Regions from separate parts of the Homo sapiens genome. Here region 1 is linked to region 2. Evidence: promoter capture Hi-C in 16 types of primary human blood cells and fetal thymus (Javierre and others, 2016). All regions are on one chromosome and are shown on one strand. The core of a region is centred on a gene start or on the middle of the fragment in contact, and the rest is flanking DNA. Distances in the headings are between cores, read along the strand shown.

Evidence for each region. The method cuts DNA at HindIII sites, captures the fragments that hold promoters and counts their contacts. A CHiCAGO score of 5 or more calls a contact.
Region 1: a contact is called between a fragment that was not itself captured here and the fragment with the promoter of SC5D in region 2, in 1 of 17 cell types (monocytes). The highest score is 5.1, in monocytes.

What each region holds. Positions count from the first base shown.
Region 1 is chr11:122,209,878-122,215,273 of GRCh38, reverse strand. The region is part of intron 2 of MIR100HG (mir-100-let-7a-2-mir-125b-1 cluster host gene); the gene reads left to right. Among named protein-coding and RNA genes, the nearest start is that of MIR100, 60 kb to the right of the region's middle. The HindIII fragment of the contact is 8,380 bases long and covers 1-5,396 here.
Region 2 is chr11:121,290,441-121,295,587 of GRCh38, reverse strand. SC5D (sterol-C5-desaturase) reads right to left here and starts at 2,817. Exons shown (of 5, transcript NM_006918.5): 1 at 2,772-2,817. RefSeq lists enhancers at 1-312, 3,026-3,075 and a silencer at 2,806-2,855. The HindIII fragment of the contact is 7,130 bases long and covers 1-3,951 here.

The sequences.
Region 1 (5,396 bases), core at 469-2,968, 920 kb before region 2:
AAATGGATTTCTTTAGAAATGTCAACAGACACTTGACACTTATCCTTTAAGGTACTCCCCAACGTGTCTCCTGACTGGGCCAAATTTAGTTTCTCCCAAATTGCTCAGAAATGGAATGTTTGCTTTTTACTTTTTAGCACTCTGGGCTTTTCTACAAACTCATAAAAGTTGGTGATTCTAACCAAGGGATCACAAGAAAGTGGGGTGCTACTTTTTATGAATTAAATTCAGTACCCCCATTATTCTCTGTTTTAGGTTGAAGATCTCTTGATGTCAGGGACTTATGCATTTGCTCCCTCTCCATCACACACAGCCTGGCACACAGTAGGTGCTTCACACAATCTTGTTAAAAGGAGCAGACTCTATCTGGTCAAAATCATTCTTGGAAGTTCTTTTCTATTTGTTTGTTAAAAGGAAAAATGGCCAGAGTTGAGACTGTGAAAGTTCATTCCTGATTTCAGACCAAAAAAAATAAAGCTGAACCTGAGAGAAAAACAATGATGAGTGCAAGTTGTGATTTCTATGATCACTCTGATAAGAATGAGGATCGTGACCGGCTGTGGTCTCCCAAGGTTTGAAAAAAGAGAAATATATGCATGCAGGAGAGAACTGAGTTAGATATGAGATAGAACTTCCTAAGAGCAGAGGTTATGGGATACCCTTATAAAATACAAATGGGGGTTTATGCTAGCAAATACTCTAGAGAGAGATACACATCCATGTAGTTCAATAAACACTTATTAAATTCCTGCATTATGCCAGCACTGTATTAGATACTGGAGTAAAAAAGATTGTAAAGTATAGTACCTGGTCACCAAGAAGACAGAGACTAACAAGCAGACAATTTCAATATAATTTCCTGATTGCTAAGAGAGAAGTATATGTGCCCAGGGTGTTGTGGGAGAATATGAAAGTGCACTAATTCAAGCTGTGTAGTCAGGGAAGGCTTCCTGGAGGAGGTAGTGCTTCTACTGAGTCTTACTATTGGGTGAGAGATATCTAGAGAAATAAATGCAGTCAGCATATTCCAGCAAAGGTGGAAAGCTAGATTAGCTGATGTACAAACATCTTCAGGTCACAGAAACTCCTTTTAGTCCTTCTGAATTGAGTCATCTGGGAAATGCTGTTGTCCCACAAGAAATGTCTTACAATTCTGGCAGCCTAAAGGGGCTCAGTTTTCTATTGCATGTTCAGCTTGTCACCTTGTTAGGACAGCCTCTTATAGACTTAGGAGGGAAAGAGTAAAAGAGGGAATCTTATTTTCATTTGCATCCAAGGATCATGATCCATTAAGCAGCCTCTGTGCTCTAACATTCAGGGAGCTGCAGGACTGGCATATCCTTGATGCATCAGATCTGATATATTTGTGTTCAAAGGGAACAAACCAACTACTACTGATAAGTTCTCTCACAGCAGCTACTTTTTGAGTTCCAACAGGTTGTTGTACCTAGCCCCATTGTACAGGTGGGGAAACTGAGGCTGAGGGGCACAGAGTCACTTTCTAGGCCCTGGGGAATAACTATTGGCTACTGCATAGTAATTTAGCTTCTTATTTCTCACTGTACCTTCCCAGGGTGGGAACCTCTGAGAGTCAATTTTCCCAGAAAGAGGCACTTTCGAAATGGCAGGCCTGTTAGTAATGGCCTGTTTCCACTGGGTATCCTGCCCATTGGGCTGGCACTATGGGAGTGGGGGTTCCCAGCCACCCCAGGGAGGTCATTCAATCCCAGCCATGGCAGCTGGTGTCCTTGGTGCCCTGGACCACCATCAGAGAACGGAATCTGCGGGAAAACAAAGAGTGCAGCCGTGGCGGCAGACCTGAGCCCTCCACGCCTGCTTGCCCAGGGCAGGTCCCAGTGGGGTTAGTGCCAGGGGCTGTGCTGATTCTCCACCCCCTTCCCGGCCCCTCGGCTCATCTGCTGGCTTTCAGAACTCCAGCCATCCTGAATGGGTCTTTGTGCGCACCCCAGGAGCTGGCTCGGAAGAGCCTGATGGAAATGCTGGACAGAGACATCTCCTCTGGATCCAGGCACAGCCCGTCATGGTGCCATCTTGCGGGAGTCAGGCTTTTATTGTTTCACCACGTTGCTCTATCTGGGAGTGGGTTGGGACCTGGTGAATGGGAGAAATATTCTGCACCCCTGACAGTGGGGTCATGGGTAGGGCCGAGGGGATGGCAGCACCTCTGTCACTTTCCCACAGCTCTCTTTCCCACGGTCAGTCTTTGCTACTTTGCCCCCCTGAGATGATTGTGATAATATTAATAACAAGAGGCATCGTTAATGGTCACTCCCGAGGTGCCAGGCATTGTGCTGAGGGTTTCATTCCATTGAATACGTGTTCTCAAAGATCCTGTGGGATGTGTTGTCTTATTATTCTCATTTTACAGGTGAAGAAACCAAGGTTAGGAGATGTTAAGCTACCTGCCCAGGTAATTCTGAACAGGAAGATGAGCACAGATTGGATGCAACTCTGCCCTTACCTCCTCCTTCCAGCCTTCAAGGTGTCTCTTTCCAATCATTGAGGTCCTAAGGCCACTTGTACTCTCATTCCTAAGAAATCCCTGAGCTCCAGGGCGCCAGCACAGACAAAAGCCTGGTTCTGGCAAAATGTGAAAAGCCTCGTGGCCTCTCAGATTCCTTTTTTTAATGCTGTGCTTTTTTTTTTTTTTTCTGAAATCAGGGGTGTATTTTATTTTATAAGATAGAAGAAATTGTAGATGTATAAGGAACACGTTGGAGTACAACTATAGATTGAAAATTGTGTTAAAGGACCTTATCTCCATCCTCAAAAAACAAAATGGTTTTATGAGACAAGCAAGTACCACATAAGGGCTGGAGTGCAGGATGCATTTCAGATGTCAGTGGTCCCAGCTCTGTCACCGCCGGCACTGCTCTGGCCAGGCGTCCTCTGTAGATGCAGGGATGAGGGTTAATTCCAGGTGTCTGACTCTGAGGCTCTCTTTGGCTGGGTTGGAGAGTAGGCAGAAATCTTGTTTTTATTTTTTTAATAGACAGAAGCAGTGGTGATAATGGCATCTACTCACCTGCCTGGCTTCTCTTCTATGTATGACAAGAGTGTCATTTAGGAAGGGTGATTGATATAGCTCTCTTATGGAGCAAACTCGATGACCCTTTTAGGGGAATGAAGTTTTAACCATGACTTTTAGAGCAGCTCTGTTAGCTGAGCCAAACAGCCAACTGGGAAGGGCTGTGAGTATCTCTCTGTTTGGAAAAAGGCTATAAATAATCTATGGTAAACAAATAAACAAAAACACCAGAAGAAACACAGGTTAGATCTTCAGAAGAACTTCCTAGCTGTGCAGTGTGGTAAGACATCAGGCAAAATTGTAAGTTGTGCCCCAGAATTTGCTGAGCTCCCCTCCCCTCCCCTCCCCTCCTGTCCCCTCTCCTCCCCTTCCCTCCCCTTCCCTCCCCTTCCCTCCCCTTCCCTCCCCTTCCCTTCCCTTCCCTTCCCTTCCCTTCCCTTCCCTTCCCTTCCCTTCTTCTCCTCATCTTTTTTTGAAAGAAAGTTAGCTTCTAACTCTCTAGGCTGTTATCTGTATAGCCCATACCATTCCCAAGTTAGAGGAATGACCATTGACTATCATAGGCCTCATATAGAGAACCTTTATATCCATCATTAACACATGACAAAGACACTCTCTAGAATTTGAATCCTCAACATTGTGTGTGGTATAGTGTGTTATTCCCCTCAGTGTGAAAAGTTAATGTCCATTCCTAGCCACTACTGCATTCAACCCCAGAAATATCAATGCTCTAATGATGGGTAAACTGTCTGAGTTGTTTTTTCTATTAATTATTCTCCAAGTTGCTTTCTACAGTCTTTTTTTTTTTTTTTTTTTTTTTGAGATGGAATCTCTCTCTGTTGCCCAGGCTGGAGTGGTGCAGTCTTGGTTCACTGCAACTTCCACCTCCCGAGTTCAAGTGATTCTCCTGCCTCAGCCTCTCGAGTAGCTGGGATTACAGGCACACACCACCATGCCTGGCTAATTTTTTGTATTTTTAGTAGAGATGGGGTTTCACCATGTTGGCTAGGCTGGTCTCGAACTCTTGACCTCAGGTGATCCGCCCACCTCGGCCTCCCAAAGTGCTGGGATTACAGGCGTGAGCCACTGCACCTGTCCTCTACAATCTTTACACTGCTCTCTGATATCCAAGGATCTTTACCAGAGCATATTTCTTCATTAGACTATTGCTATCATCGTGGATTATTATTACAACTTGATTGTGGTGATATATAATAAATGTTTTATGATTTGAGGAAGGGAAGTATAAGTGCAGCAGAGAAATACCCATCACCATCAAGATAATAGTCTGTAGAGGGTTAAGGTCCTAAGACGTATGGTGTTGAACAAACAAAAATCATAAACAGCCATTAGCCCACTTCCAACTTCAGCCCCTTTCAACTCACTATGATGTCATGCTCTGGTGTTTTTCTTGGGAGTCACTTGTTTCTTTTTTATTTGCTAGTCTCATTTCTGAGAGTGGAACTTGCTATTAAAACAAATAATAGTTAAAGATAGTAGAGTTCAAGAGCTTAGGGGATAATTCAAGGCAGACACTGGAAAGAACTTTTTGATTGTGACAAGGAGAATATATCGAAGAAAACCTTGTTTAAATAGGGCAAGTGAAATTTACCTCTGGGGCATGGGCTACTTGAAGTTTGAGTAACTTTCTAGGTCTCAGTCCTTTAATTATGGGGTAACATGTGAGTCATAGGACAATTTCTTCTTTGTGAAGAAAGCTGTCAATTTATTTGTTGGACTTTGGTCAGTAGGCAATGCAGAATCACTTGTGACCAGTGCAGGCAACAAAGAATCACCATGAGTTTTGGAACATAAGAGTGACATAATCAGAGACATGTATTAGGGAGACTAAACTACAAGTCACATGTAAAATGGATTACAGTGGATAGATCCTAGCAGTAAGAAACCAAGTAAGAAGATATAGCAATAGTCCAATCAAGAAAAAATGAAAACTTCACTGAGGATAATTGCAGTAGGAATAAAAGAAAGGGACTAATTCAAGAAATACAATGGAGAAAGAATGGACAGAGCTTGGCAACTAAGCAGCTATAAAGGAGGGGCATGCGTGAGGGAGGAATTAACTATGACACAATCAGATTTCCCCAGAGAGCAACTGGGCATTTGTCCAATGGCCAATGGGAGCAACTGAACTTTCTGCACTTTTCTTGCCGACAAACAAGCAGGGAGTAACAGTGGCCTGTTAGCTGTGCAAACTCCCCCATAACCTCTCATGATGAGGGGAGTATGACCCTGTCATAGGGTGAGTCAAGATTAGAAATAGGGCAGTGGATGCAGGTTTGTACTTCCCTGACGGGTGATGCCATTTGATGCGTCCCATTGCCCCAAC
Region 2 (5,147 bases), core at 1,568-4,067:
ATCCCTCCCTCACAATTTGCCCTCAGAAAATTCCTTTGTGGATAAAGGACAGACAGGACTCAAAGTCATCCCTCTGAGGCTCACCTGACACAAATGGATTTCTGATTGCTTCCTCTGCCCTATTGTTTATGTAAACATGCAGATTCACTGAGCCAGACGAAATGTGTGCATTCAGTGGAAGGCTAATCAAGGACTCAAAATAATGCAACCTTTGTCTCTTATCTGCTTCTAACCTGGAAGCCCCCACTGTGAGTTGTCCCGCCTTACCAGACCCAACCAATGTACTTCTTACACATATTGATTGATGTCTCATGTCTCCCTAAAATGTATAAAAGCAAACTGTGTCCCCGACCACCTTGGGCACATATTGTCAGGGCTTCCTGAGGCTGTGTCACGGGTGAATCCTTAACCTTGGCAAAATAAACTTCCTAAATTGACTGAGACCTGTCTCAGATATCTGGGGTTCAAAACGGGTTCAATGTAGATCTTAAAACCTAATTATCTGTGGCTCATCTTCTATCTTAGATATAAGCAATAGGCCACATGTAAATATAAATGTGAAGTTCAAAAGCGAGCCTGGTTAGTATACAGGTAGTAGTTGAAGTTATAGGGGTGAAGACTGCCAAGGGAGGTGGTGTAGCAGGGACAGGGTACTACGTAATATCAGATAACATAAACATTTAATAATTGAAAAGGATATTGCTATATCACTAAAGGTTGGTAACAGCTGATGAGCCAATCTACATGTTCCCCACAGTGCCATGTGGCCCTACTTCAATACAATACCTAGAATAGTATCGTGCAACCAAAAAGAACACAAACATGTTTGATTGCTGTGAGGTTTAGAGACTAAGTAGACTTTTGACATTTGACCCAAGAAAGGTACTCAATAAAATAGCATCTATATGATTATCACTGTTAAGGCCGTCAAAAATGCGTCAAAATTACTTCAATAGAAGATAAAATAGGTGCCACTTGATTTTTGTTTGAAAAATAACTGACAGTAGTTGATAGTAATATTTAATATATACTAGGTAATATAAATATTTTAAATATATTAACTAATTTTCCCTTTCAAGAAGCCTCAAAGGTAGGTACTAGTATTATTTTATAGATGAAGAAGCTGGGCACAGAAATTTTAAGTAACTTGCATAGGGTCATAAGAGTAAATAAATGCTGGAGCTAGGATTCAAATACACACAATCTAGTTGCAAAGTACGTGAACTTCTGCCAAGTTCTATAGCCTCTTCACCACTACTTCAAGTCGTCAACTCCTGAATTTTTAAAAATGTTCAGTGCCTCTACAAGCTCATATAATTTTAAGGGGTTATAAGCCCTGAAGTTAGGGGTCCCAAGGACCCTAAATTAAGTACCACTGCTTCAAACAGAAACTTAAATACTTTGTCCTTGCAGAATTAAAGAAACTTCTTCTTAAAACTCAGTTATAATAACAATATTAGGCTTAGAACAACTCAGTCTACCATTATCTTTTTGCCCTACTTTAAAAGTATAGAAAATGATAGCTAATATTTATTGAGAACCAGGTATTATTTTTGTATAACCTCATCTAATCCCTATACCTCTATGAGATAGGTACTTCTATGCTCCCCACTTTATAGATAGGGAAACTGAGGTCAGAGTATTTAAATAACTTGTTCAGTAGCAAGCAACAATAACAGAAAAAACCAGCTGGGATGTACATTCCACAACCTTTCTCTTTGCTACCACGTTATGTTATCTCTCAAGATGTTTTATATGCAGATGAGGGATTCTGAGTACCACCCCATGCTAATTAATTACATTACATAACGAATGGAAAAGCACTCTGTAAATGATCAAGGATCAGTTATTATTTACTAGGTATCAATCATTAGAAACTTTAAAAAATGATAGTGATATAAAGACAAATAACTTCCAGAGGGTTTCCTCTAAAAGTACCGAGCTGCCACAAACTTTCCAGTTTGGAAACTCTATGTACTGAGGTCTTGTTTTCTTCACTTACACCACCTCCAAATCTACTCTGCTGTAACACAGGGATGTCAGTATACATTATTTTTCCTTTTATGATGCAAAAGGAACAGATTATTTCCCTTTTCCTTTCAGTCTCCTCAGCCCCAGATTGCTGTCCCTTCATTCTAATTACGCCGCAGCAACAGAGGCTTGCAATGGTCAGGAGTTCTGATACCGACCAGTTCTTCAGCCTGATTCTTCTGGCCTTTAAAAGAAAAAAACCCTCCCAGAACGAAGGGAAAAGTAAAGCATTCGTGTTCAGCAGCCAGACCAGAATTCCCTTGAGTAAGAGATCTGCAACACCCAACATCAAACACTGCATTTTCTTTAAGCCCGTCCACGGTCGGCTCCTTCAAGTCCAGGCCTCCCTATCGGCCCCGCGATCCCTCCCAGCGCGAGCGGAAGGCCCCTCCGCCCGGACTCCCAGGTGGCGCAGCCCTCCAGGCCCCGAGGTCCCCCGGCCCAGCCCTCGCCGCCAGTCTTCGGGATGCCAGGCTACCTGCCAGCCTCTCCTCTCACTCGGCGCAGGACTCGGATCCGTATGCTACCGCGATCCTACCATCCGCCCAACGCCTAGCACCCAGAGGGCACTCGCTAACCAACCGCGGCGCGGAGAAAAGCCGTGCTGCGAGGACACCTTCCGCCTCGCCCACCCGAGTCCCAGGCGCTGAAGTCTCTCCATCTTCTTTTATTCCATCGCCCCCCGGCCCAGCCCGCTCAGGTGTATTCCGCTTCCTTCCCCGCCCACCCACCGTCCCCACCTGGAGGTGGTCCGCCGCCGCTCCGCACGCCACTGCTCTGCAAACTGTCCTAGCAGCTGGGCAGCCAGCAAGCGGGCCGGGAGGCTGGAGCGGCCAGCCAATCAGCGACCGGCGCCATAAGCTGATATGACGGCAGATCGCGCGAAGGGCCTGCGCGCAGCTCTCCGCGGTCACGTGGGCGCCGCGCGCTCGGCCACGCCCCCTTTGTCCTCTGACTAAGGGGAGGGCGGGCGCCCCATCCGAGTACCTTTGCGGTGGAGGATGCGGTTTCGGGTTTTGCGTTTGTTTCTTTGCTTTCTTTTTAAACTAGCTCTTGTGTCATTCATGGTGGTACCAGGCAGGTTTACGGTGTTTATACAAACATTCCTAGAACGGGTGCCCTGCGTTGAGGGAAATAGACGACACTTCCTTTGACGCGAATGTCTGGGTCGTTTTCTCCCTCAAGGGAGGAGGTGCAGATGTTCCCAAACAGGTGCTCAAGGTTTTAAGACGTAGTCCCCCCGATTTTCTAGCGCTGAATGGCTGGAGGCTCCGCGAGCCGGTGTATGTAGGGGTCTAAATGGTGACAAGATGAGGGTAAACATGGACAGAAACCTTTTCACGATACAAGTTGTTGAAAACCAAGGTTAACGCAGATCTAATTGGCTTTGATTTGCTACACATGAATCGAGCAGCTCCGATTTCCTGAAACAGAGCTGAGCAGAGGAGGGTGGCTTCACAGGCAGAAGAGGACGGAGGAAAGCAGAAATAAGGAACCAAAAGATCTGTCGTTTCAGAGTGACTTTCCTTAAACAGAGATTAAAACAGAGGGGACTGACTTGTGATACCAGCTCAGCAACTTCAAAGTGGCAAACTGGGCCACTTTACCTATTACATAAATAATATGGGGAATACATGACAGAAATGAGGGATTTTTAAGGGAAAAAAATAACATGATTCGATCTGCCTTCAAAAGACTTTTCCGGTAGTTAAACTTCAAATGTACATAGGATACTGGACAAAGTTCAAATGAATTTAAAATAGTGTAGGTGGTTTTTTTAAAAAAGACTCATTATATAAATAAAAATAAATTTTAAAAAGTTTTGAGTGTCTACTTCGTTTAACACATCGTACTGAACACCGGGAATGGAAAGAGATGTTACAATAATGACAAAGACATGGTTCCCAACCTTAAAAAGCTTATGTGCTGTGGGAGAAATGGGCATGTATAAATAACTATGTTGCTTATTACAAGGACAGGAAATAAACAGTAATTGGTGGTATAGGCTGAGCACAGAGACAAAATGGCTATTCTGATGAGGGAAATTAGGGAAGGAACATTGTTTTGCCCAATGAAATGATTTGAATGGACACTTTAAAATGTTATTGAGCATAGATGATAAAACATTTATTAAACGAATAAAAGCTCAAAAGTGAAATGTTATAAGCAAACATCAAATATCCTGAATCTCTAGAATTTTATTGTTGAATATGCCTTAGCTATTACAAGTGGTCTTTATTCTTGGTGACTTAGGGATTCCCAAGAAATTTGCAATCACTCCTGACAACTCAAAGTAGTAATAAGTTAACCTCAAGAGAACAATCTTGTTTAAAAATAAATTTAAGTGTATTTTTTAATTATTATTTAAGTTCTGGGATACATGTGCAGAACGTGCAGGTTTGTTACATAGGTATACATGTGCCATGGTGGCTTGCTGCACCTTCCAACCCGTCATCTAGGTTTTAAGCCCTGCATGCATTAGTTATTTGTCCTAATGTTCTCCCTCCCCTTGCCCTCCACCCCCTGACAGGCCCCGGTGTGTGATGTTTCCCTCCCTGTGTCCATGTGTTCTCATTGTTCAACTCCCACAGTTGAACAACTCCCACATACTCAATGAGAATATGTGGTGTTTGGTTTTTTGTTCTGTGTTATTTTGCTGAGAATGATGGCTTCCGGCTTCATCCATGTCCCTGCAAAAGACATGAACTCATTCTTTTTTTTATGGCTGCATAGTATTCCGTGGTGTATAAGTGTATTAATAGCACATCCTGGGGTGCAGCATTCCTACATGTCTTTTCTATCCAGGCACACTGATGGATCAGGGTAATTTATTTATTCATTGTTTGCAAGGGTCTATGGTACCAACCAGCCAGTACCAAGGAATTCAGAGATAAGCCACAATACCTGCCTATGTGTCTGGATGGAACATGAACATGGAAACAAACCATTTAATCATTAAATTACTCAATTTATTTACTCAATAAATCATTATGTAATGGTGATAAGTGTCAGGCACTGTCATATGCACAGGAGATATACTGATAATCAAAACAAAGTCTGCTCTAATGAAGCTTACACACTAGTAAGGAGACAGAAAACTGATAATAAATAAATAG